2 separate regions of the Homo sapiens genome follow, and region 1 is linked to region 2. Evidence: promoter capture Hi-C in 16 types of primary human blood cells and fetal thymus (Javierre and others, 2016). All regions are on one chromosome and are shown on one strand. Each heading gives the region's core, a stretch centred on a gene start or on the middle of the fragment in contact. The rest is flanking DNA. Distances are from core to core; before and after follow the strand shown.

Evidence for each region. Contacts are between HindIII fragments. The CHiCAGO score rates a contact against its expected background, and 5 or more counts as called.
Region 1: a fragment that was not itself captured here is called in contact with the fragment with the promoter of UBQLNL in region 2 in 1 of 17 cell types (monocytes); the score reaches 5.2 in monocytes.

The regions. Positions count from the first base shown.
Region 1 is chr11:5,769,602-5,774,285 of GRCh38, forward strand. No RefSeq gene overlaps it. Among named protein-coding and RNA genes, the nearest start is that of OR56B2, 11 kb to the left of the region's middle. The HindIII fragment of the contact is 1,130 bases long and covers 1,018-2,147 here.
Region 2 is chr11:5,513,537-5,518,215 of GRCh38, forward strand. UBQLNL (ubiquilin like) reads right to left here and starts at 3,163. Exons shown (of 1, transcript NM_145053.5): 1 at 857-3,163. The coding sequence starts at 2,905. The coding sequence ends at 1,478. The HindIII fragment of the contact is 7,757 bases long and covers 1-4,679 here.

The DNA.
Region 1 (4,684 bases), core at 333-2,832, 250 kb after region 2:
GATGAGCATGGAGTGTTTCCACCCTTTCATCTCCTGTGAGCGTTGTCTTAATTCCAACACTGTGACCCTAATTATATGAAATATCCCCTTGGGACATATAACACATAATTTTCTTTAAAGGCTCATATCAGTAGTAAAGGTATCAAGGGATTTTAATGTTGGGGGGAGTACATGTACATATATTGTAGGATTCTCATGTGTTCTTTGACCAAGATTCTGAACATCTGGGCCAAACTGCATTCAGCTCATTCTATTGGCATCTGGAAATTAGGTATTAAAGGACATAAAAAGGAGACAGGGGTAGTGACAGGATTTTTCTTGTTGTAGTTCATAGTAGATAAATTGGAGAGATGTTTTGCCAAAGTGTACAGAATCTTTGAGTGTATACTATTATTATTCTCAGAAATTCAGACTTGATTTCATCCACTTAGTTTGAAGGTAGAAGTGTTGCAGACATTTGTTTTGCAGAATGTTTATTTCCCCAATTTTCAGGTTTTCATTCAGCGAAATTTTTATGATGATTTTGAATATTTATAAACAAAGCAAACAGGAATCATTGGAAATGATGAAAGTCAGGTATGAACCACCCGACAACATGGAGAAAAAATAGAAAACAGTTCTTGATTATGGTCAGAATTCTTCCATAATCAAGTTCTTACCTGCCCTCCTCTTGTTCCTTAGAATAAGAATCTAATTAACTGGCTTTATTCCTAGACAGACATAGTTGTGACTGTGTTTCATTGATTTTGGACAGCAAACATACTTGGATGAACCTACAGTCATTTTGAGAAAAGAGCATGGTCTGTAAAGACTGAGCATGGTCAAGTGAGGAAACAAAGTTACTATTTACAGAGTTTGGGGTGAAAATGCACAACCGATGATATCAAAATCATACTTTATAAATGGTGGTATTTGTTTTTAATGTTATCACTTAATAGACCTACTCACTCACAGCATAATACAAATCTATTATTCTTGCAGAATTATAAAGTAATATAGTATTAAAAGCATTTTATAAGCTTATATTTCTTGATGAGACTCATCACTTTTTAAAAAAAGTTGTGGCCCTCAGCTTCAAATCCTGATAATCGGGAACTCAGCGTATTGGGGACTAGAAGGTATTATAATTTCCCTTTTTCATAAAATATAAAGCTGAATTATCTTTCTTTCATCACCAGCAATTAGATAGATTTGTGTAAATTTACATTGCCACAGCAGTCACATTGCCCAGCTGAGTTTCCAGCAAGTATAAATATCATTCTCAGAGGCAATTTATAGTACAGTTCAAACAGACATCTTTCTCAATCGAAATCTCTTTCCCTTTGACTCTCGGGAAGCACAAATTAGAGAAATACAGAAAGCGGCATGTAAGATAAAATTAAAATGTAGCTGCTGTATTAAAAGAAGAGAGAATTAACAAAGTAAAATAAATTTTTGCTAACTTTAAAAAAAGCGTTTTTAATTTGTTTTGGAGAAAGTATTATATAACTTGTGCTTAGTGCTATATTATTTTGTATCAGCAAGATCTTTAACTGAGATGCTTATAAATGTAATTGAGATGAGAACTAAACTTCTCATGTAACAATAAAGCCAGTTTTAGTAATTAAAACTATATAAAAAGGAAACACAAGAGACATAAATAGGATATTTATGTGTTTCCCTTTTATAGTTACAGTTTTAATATATATTAATATAAGGTATATTAAATATATGAGATATAATGTAATATATATTAAATATATAATGTGAGATATTATATATGTAACATAAGATAAATATGCAATGTGAGATAAAGACAGCATAACTCATCCTAAAGATATATTTTTTATTTTCAACCTAGAGGTATCTTTACGTTCTCTAATTTCTCTACTTGCTTCTGTTACAGACATATAGAGTTAAGAGTTGACTGCTTAAATGAATCGATCAGGAAAAGCAAGCAATAATTCAATATTTTTCAAATATTTATGAGAACTTGGCATATATTAGTCAAATATTTATCAAACTACATTAGAAAATCTAGCTTATTTTCACAGTAATCTATACAATTATGTATGTATGTGTATAAATTATTAATTTAGTTTCTTTAATAATAAATTGTAAAGGAAATTTGAAAAATAGAATACACAAACATGAAGAACAAATTTACAAGCTTCACAGAAAGAAAATTGATAATTTTGTTATACAAGGAAACACTTTCTCATTTTGTAAGCACATATTTTTCTTATAACCAGAATACTAATTACAAAGCTTTTCTTAGCCTTGAAATTATTTGTGTAAATCCATACCAGTGTTGCTAAGTCGAAAATTGAAGATCAGCCAAGAAGTTGTGTTAATGTAAGTGGATTCCCCATTTTAAAATTTTCATTGTGTACTAATAATGTGAGAAAAATAACTTCAGTGTTTTCCATTATTTTGCTTGAGGGAAACTGTGTCAGACAGGAAAATGAAACAATTTGGTTCAATCAGTTTGATTTTTTTTTAATTTTCAATTTTTTGTGGGTACATATTACATGTATATATTTATGGGGTATATGAGATGTTTTTATACAGGCATGCAATGCATAATAATCACATCATGGAGGATGGGTTATCCATTCCTACAAGCATTTATCTTTGGTGTTACAAACAATCTAATTATACTACTCATTCTTAAATGTACAATTAAGTTATTATTGACTATAGTCACCCTGTTGTGCTATCAAATACTAGGTCTTATTCATTCTTTATAACTTTTTTTTTTGTACTCATTAACCATCACCACCTTCCCCGCCAGCTCCCACCCCAACCCACTACCCTTCCCGGCCTCTAGTAATTATCCTTCTATTCTCTATGATCATGAGTTCAATTGTTTTGGTTTTTAGATACCACAAATAAGTGAGAACATGTGATGTTTGTCTTTCTTGCCTGAACATAATTATTATGGTATTTTACTTCACATAATAATCTCCAGTTCCATCCCTGTTGTTGCAAATGACAGGATCTCATTCTTTACTGTGGCTGAATAGTACTCCACCGTGTATATGTACCAAATTTTCTTTATCCATTCATCTGTTGATGGACACAGGTTGCTTCCAAATCTTGGCTATTCTGAACAGTGCTGCAATCAGCTTTAATTGCATGGTGTCATGCATTTCATCTATTGTTTATCGAAAGTTGTCTCTACCCAGTACTTACTTTCTTTGGTTTCTACTTTGACTTTAATATTTCCTCAAAAAATTTTGGGGAAGGTTTTTAGTATGTTTAGTTTCTATTTCTATGAAACTCTTTGTGCATATATTGTATATAGTTTTGCCTTTGTACTTTTTTATTGCATATGTATGTATGTATGTGTATGTATGTATATGTGTGTGTATATAAATATATTTTATATATATATATTTTATATATATATATATATCCTAGCCCTGTGAAATAGGATCAACTTGTGGTAGAGATTAAATAATTAACCTTTACCTCCCAAACCAAAATATTTGTTTGGTTTGCCACCTTATTTACTTATTTATTTATTTTACCTTTTGGGGTTATCCTTTGTTTTCCCTAGGATTTTTCCAGGAATATTTTTTACAACATTATTAATCAAAAAGTAGAAATGACGTATATATCCATCGATTGCTGAAAGGATAAGCAAAATAAAGTATACCCATAAAAGGAATTATTATGGAATTATTATTCTGTCACCAGAAGAAGTGAAGTATGGTACATGTTGCAACATATATAACTATTGAAAACATATTAAGTGAAAAAGTTAGACTCAGTTGCCCATCTCTTGTGTGATTCCATTTATATGAATACCTACAATAGTCCATAGAAACAGAAAGCAAATGAATTGCTGTCAGAGCCAAGGGGGACAGGATGATAAGGACAGACTGACTAATGGTTACGGAGTTTCCTTTTGAGATGATGAAAGTATTCTGGGCTTACATACAGGTGATGGTTGCACAGCATTGTAACCATATTTAAAGCCACTCAATTGTACACTTAATTTTATTATTTTTAAATTTTGTGGATGCATAGTAGGTATTTATTATTTGATAAATGAGATGTTTTGCTCTAGACATGCAGTGTGAGATAAGCACATCATGGAGAATGGGGTATCCATTCCTTCAAGTATTTATCCTTTGAGTGACAATCCAATTCACTATTTAAGTTATTAAAAAATGTACAATTATTATTGATAATAGTCACTGTGTTGTGCTATCAAATAGTAACTTTTATTCATTCTTTCTATTTTTGTACCCATTCTTTCTATTTTTTAATTCATTCTTTCTAACTATTTTTTGTACTGTCTCCACCTCCCATGCCCAGACCTTCACTACACTTGCCAGCCTCTGGTAACCGTCCTTCTACTGTGTCCATGAGTTCAATTGCTTTGATTTTAGATCCCACTAATAAGTAAGAATATGAGATGTTTGTCTTTCTGTGCCGGGCTTACATCACTTAACATAATGATCTCCAGTTCCATCTATGTTGTTGCAAATGACAGTATCACTTTTTTTTTATGGTAGAATAGTATCCCACTGTGCATATGTAACACATTTTATTTTATTTATCCATTCATCTATTGATGATCAAAAGAAAGGAAATCAGTATATATTGAAGGGATATCTGCACTCTTATGTTTGTTGCAGCACCGTTTACAACAGCTAAGATTTGGAAGCAACCTAAGTGTCAACTGTATATTTTT
Region 2 (4,679 bases), core at 1,913-4,412:
GAATCATTAAAACACAAATAATTGCATATCCTGCCATGGTGGGATACTCTAGGTGAGGCAGAAAGAGAAAAAGGTGGGGCATTGGCAACCATGGAAAATGTAAACTACAAACATAAGATAGATATACTGAAGGAGGTGATATTCTTGGAAGGTGCTGTGCCCCATGGAGGGCTGGATTTGTGGTGACTGGGATATACAGTGGAGATGGCAGCAGCTGCATCTCTGTGTGCTAAAGAGACAGTAGAGACAGCCCATCACCATCTTATAATGGTGGCAAAATCAACGAGCAGGAGGTTCCAATGATGATAACTATTCATCCGGACTTGGTTAATATGTGAATTCACCCTACTCTGGCCCTCATATTATTCCTGTTCCACTTTCAAACTTGAACAATTTGGGTTTGAGAAATTCAGGCAGTCTTTATGACTAAATATCTGGGCCTATCTATGTAAAATGTTTCCCTTTCTGTTTGAGCATGTTATGATTGTTTTCCCTACATATGGGTCTATTTATGTGTCTCTAGGTATTTGCATCTGTGTTTGCACATGGCTGTGTGTACTCATATGTGGACTCTATATGCCTGTATATGTGAATTTTTTACTATGTGAGCTTGTGTACATACACACACCTGTCCAAGGTGACATGCTCAAAATAATCAGTTTCATATACCATGCTCAAGTTTCATATACCATGCTCAAAATGCTCATGTTTTAGAGATAAAAACATTATTTTTATCTCTATATTAATATATGCATGTGGTTTGTGTGTTAATGTACATATAGTAGGTGAGACAAAAATCTCACACAGCTAGTTTTTTCTTTTTTTTTTTGCAAAAGAAGTAAAGCCAAACCTCAGATCGCAGCAAGTGAGTGTAGCCATTTTATTGACAGATGTTTCAGCCACGACCAATGATCTATTATTCAGTACAAGACACATTGGTTGATAACTCTTATTCCAGGACTTCTCCTGGCTGGAAGCATCAGGAAAGGTGCAAAAGGCAAATGAGATGGTCAGGTGGGTCAGCAGGCAGGTAGCAAGCAAACAAGTAGGCATGGTGGTTAGAATCTCTGGGATCTCTTGAGCTTGCGGATAGCAGCATTGGTGTCCCCTTCAGTAGCAATGAGTGCCTGTAGATTGGCATGGTGGTTCCCAAATCCCATGGCCTGGAGAGAATCCATCTGTTTGCTAAAACAAATCTCAGGAGCTTGCAGAGGGTGGGAAGGGTCCCCATCCGGGGATTGTAGCCTCTGCAGGACTGTTCCAGGCTTGTGGCAGCACTCAGGTCCCTTGGGCTCAGCTGTATCTGAAACATTCCAGGAACAGGGCACTGTGTCAGGATAGCTGCAGCTGGGGGCAGGAAGCCAACCCAGGCCCCATAGGTAGGGTGCAACCCAAGGCAGAAGAACAGGAGCCTCTGTGGCCAGCAGCTGGAGGGCCTGCTCAATCTGCAATATTGCTTGGAATGCTTTAGGGTTGCCTAAGCACTAAGCAGATCAGAAATCTGTGTCTGCTGCAGGAATGTGGGCAGCTGCTGCCTCCACTGTTCACTCAGCTGGGGCATACTTGTGAACAACATAATCTGAGCTGCCAGGTAGGGGTTGTTCATAAGCAACTGCATCATGCCTCCTGTGATCTGGGAGCTGCTCTGCTCATCTGACAGCTGGAGATCACCCTTTAATGTCTGTCTGGAGCTACTTAGAGAAACAGTGGCATCCTTGTATTCTTCTTGAAGCTGCTGGGTAAGCTCTATGCTAGGTAAGGCTGGTATCCAAGCTGGCTGCCGAGTGGCACAGATATGGCTCTGGCCCTTGGTGGAAATCATAGCAGTGTTGGCTTTGGAAGTGTGGTTGACCTTGTTAAGGGTGTCATTGGCTGAGGTGTTTGAAGAGAAACCACCAGAGCTATTATAGATGACTCGGGTTGCAGGATGCTGTGTGAGCTGGTCTTGTTGTTCCTGTGATGGTGGTGGAGGTGGGGGTGAAGACTGGACTTGTTCTAGCACTTGTCCTGCCAGGAGAGCTGTGAAAGGGTTTCCTCCAAAAGGATCTTGCATGCTGTTCAGCATTTGATCATTGATATCAGCATAGTTCTGACCCAGGGCATTATTCCCACCTGGCATTGTCTCTAAGCCCAGATATGGCTGTGGGTTCAGTGGATACTCAAGGTTTTGTGAAGGTTGTTGGATCTGCATTATCTCTTGGATCATAGCAAGGTTCCTGGCCAGCTCCAGAGTCTGCAATAGGATCTCAGAATTATCAAGAAGAAGGCGGGAAACTTCTGGGTTCTGCTGCATCAATTGTTGCGTGTCTAGATGTTCTGAAATGAACTGCCACATGAACTCCATGTTGGACAGAAGCCGCTGGATGCTAGGATTCTCCAGCATCTGTGCTTTGCACTCTGGGTGGCTCACTTCCAAGTTTTGGGTATGCACTTTGGGTGCATCAGACCCCACAAAGTGGGCCAGTTCCACTGGAGCTTGATTCATACCAGTTGGTTGGTGCACTCTGCTGCTGTTTCCTTTGGTGTTTCTGTCCCGGTGGCAGGGATCATTCGTTGGCAGGTCCCGGAAGGAATGGGCTAGAGATCTGGAGCCCTGCTTGGACTTGATGACCAAGTAGATGGTGTGGCCATCCATGATGCCCCTCTGGCTCAGTGTGTCATGGTCTTTGAGAAGGCAACCCATGAAGACCAGCACTAGTTGGTCCATCTGGCATTGGAAGTGAGCCAATAGCATCTCCTTGAACTGCCTTACCGAGATGTCATCAGCTACCATAAAGTCTTTCTGGTTGCCTGCAGTCTTCACTATCACTCGAGTGGCACTTGAAGAGATATTTTTGTCTGCCAGCAGACCTGATGGACATCCACTCTGGGACATCCTGGATGTTCGAGAGATGGCATGCCACATGGGCTTTAGTGGGTGGGCAGATGGGGAGCAGGTGGAAGCTGGGGCAGAAAGGGTGAGGGCAGACAAATGTTTCTGCTGGCCTTTGTCTCAGGTATTGTGCTCTCAGGCCACAGGATAGTTTCCTTGTTGCCCTAAAAGGGATGAGTGACCAGACTGGGGCCAGATATTTTGTGATGTTGTGCCCTCACCCCAGTTCTCCAGATGTGGCCCAGCTGAGGCCTGGCATAGCTACTGATTCATAATTCACCCATGGTGGACAAAGTGGTGATGACTTCTCCTAGGGCTACCCCTCCTCCTACCCCACCCACCAGGGGCATGAATCCTCAGAAAAGGGATATTGTGATGTCAACTCTATCCTCGCAGTCACCCTGGGCCAGCTGGGGAAGGAGGACATATTTAGGGGTCCAGGGCTCTACAATAAAATAAAATAATTTTCCAGAAAACAGGGACAAAGTTCTCTGGATGGAACTAGTAAGAAAACAAAAAAGTAAATAAAAACCATATTTTTAAATGTGGGATGTGTGTTTCCGTGTGATACTGTGTGTATGTTCCTTATAGGGATGTTAGACTTGTATGAAAAGTTGGGTCTACTGAAGCCATAGATAAAGCCACATTCCTATAAGAATGCAGTCTCTCCCATAGGAAGGAGCGCATTAATTTTTTTAATGATCTGGAAATTTGGGTCTTATATAGAGTCTAGATTTTGGGATTCTATATTTAATTGTGCTCCCATGTGGTGGGGAAAATTTTCCTCTGTCCTAGGAAGCAGGAGTAGGGCTAACCAGGAAGGCTCTTCATAGGCACATGCCAAACTAAATGTGAATTAGCTCTTTTTTATAATATGCCTTTTATTCACATATCACTTGGTCTCTTCTACATGTCAATATAACAGAAGTTTTAGAATGATTTGTTTCAATGTCCTAACCCACTCTTGTGTGCCCACCTTTATGTCAAAGCATTAAGGGGGAATGTCGTCTGTAAATCAAGAGGTGGGAGAGGAGGTGGTTAGTAGTAAAATTCTTAAGGGGACAAATACAGGCAACTAAAAAGCTGGATTCTTGGTCCCATGTAAATTTGGAGAATTGTGTTTGGTTTTTATTTAGATGCAGATGGAAATAATTATTTATATGAGTGAGAGTGTACATGTCTTATCGAATGTATATATGAAATTGTATGCATATTCTGTGTTACTAGGAAGCCTTCAGGGTCTGGATTTTATATATTCCATCCACCTGCCTGGAGAGGGAGGAGCACCACACAGATAGCTAAGGAACAAGCAAAAAGCTCGAGCCCATATGTTCCCAGTGTGTTGAAGACAAGCAAAGGGATGATAGGCCGTTGGCCAGGAGACCTTCTGCTATCAAACCAATGATTCTTTATTGAGAATATCTAGACCCCCAGCACCATCCATGTCAGATCCTCATCATGCTATAAGGCCAGTTGCTAACTTACTACAGCAAGACTCAGGCCTATTCTCTTGCAATTGCACTCAAAAGTGAGATCGATCCAGGACAATGAAAAATTGATTACCAGACCAAGATCTTGCCCCTTTTCTCCCCAGGGACCTCACAGGAAGGTGGAGATAAGAAAGGGAACTTTCATATCCTACTCTAATGACCAGCTGCCCTGCAGCTTCTGCACTGGAATCAGGTGTTCCCAACCTGAGATTGACAATTCTAGATCACAGAACTCTTGAGTTCCGGGAGCTGGATTTATGAAAAAAGGAATATGAGATGCCAAAGCATCAGAAAGAGAGGGTACCATTTTCTTAGCT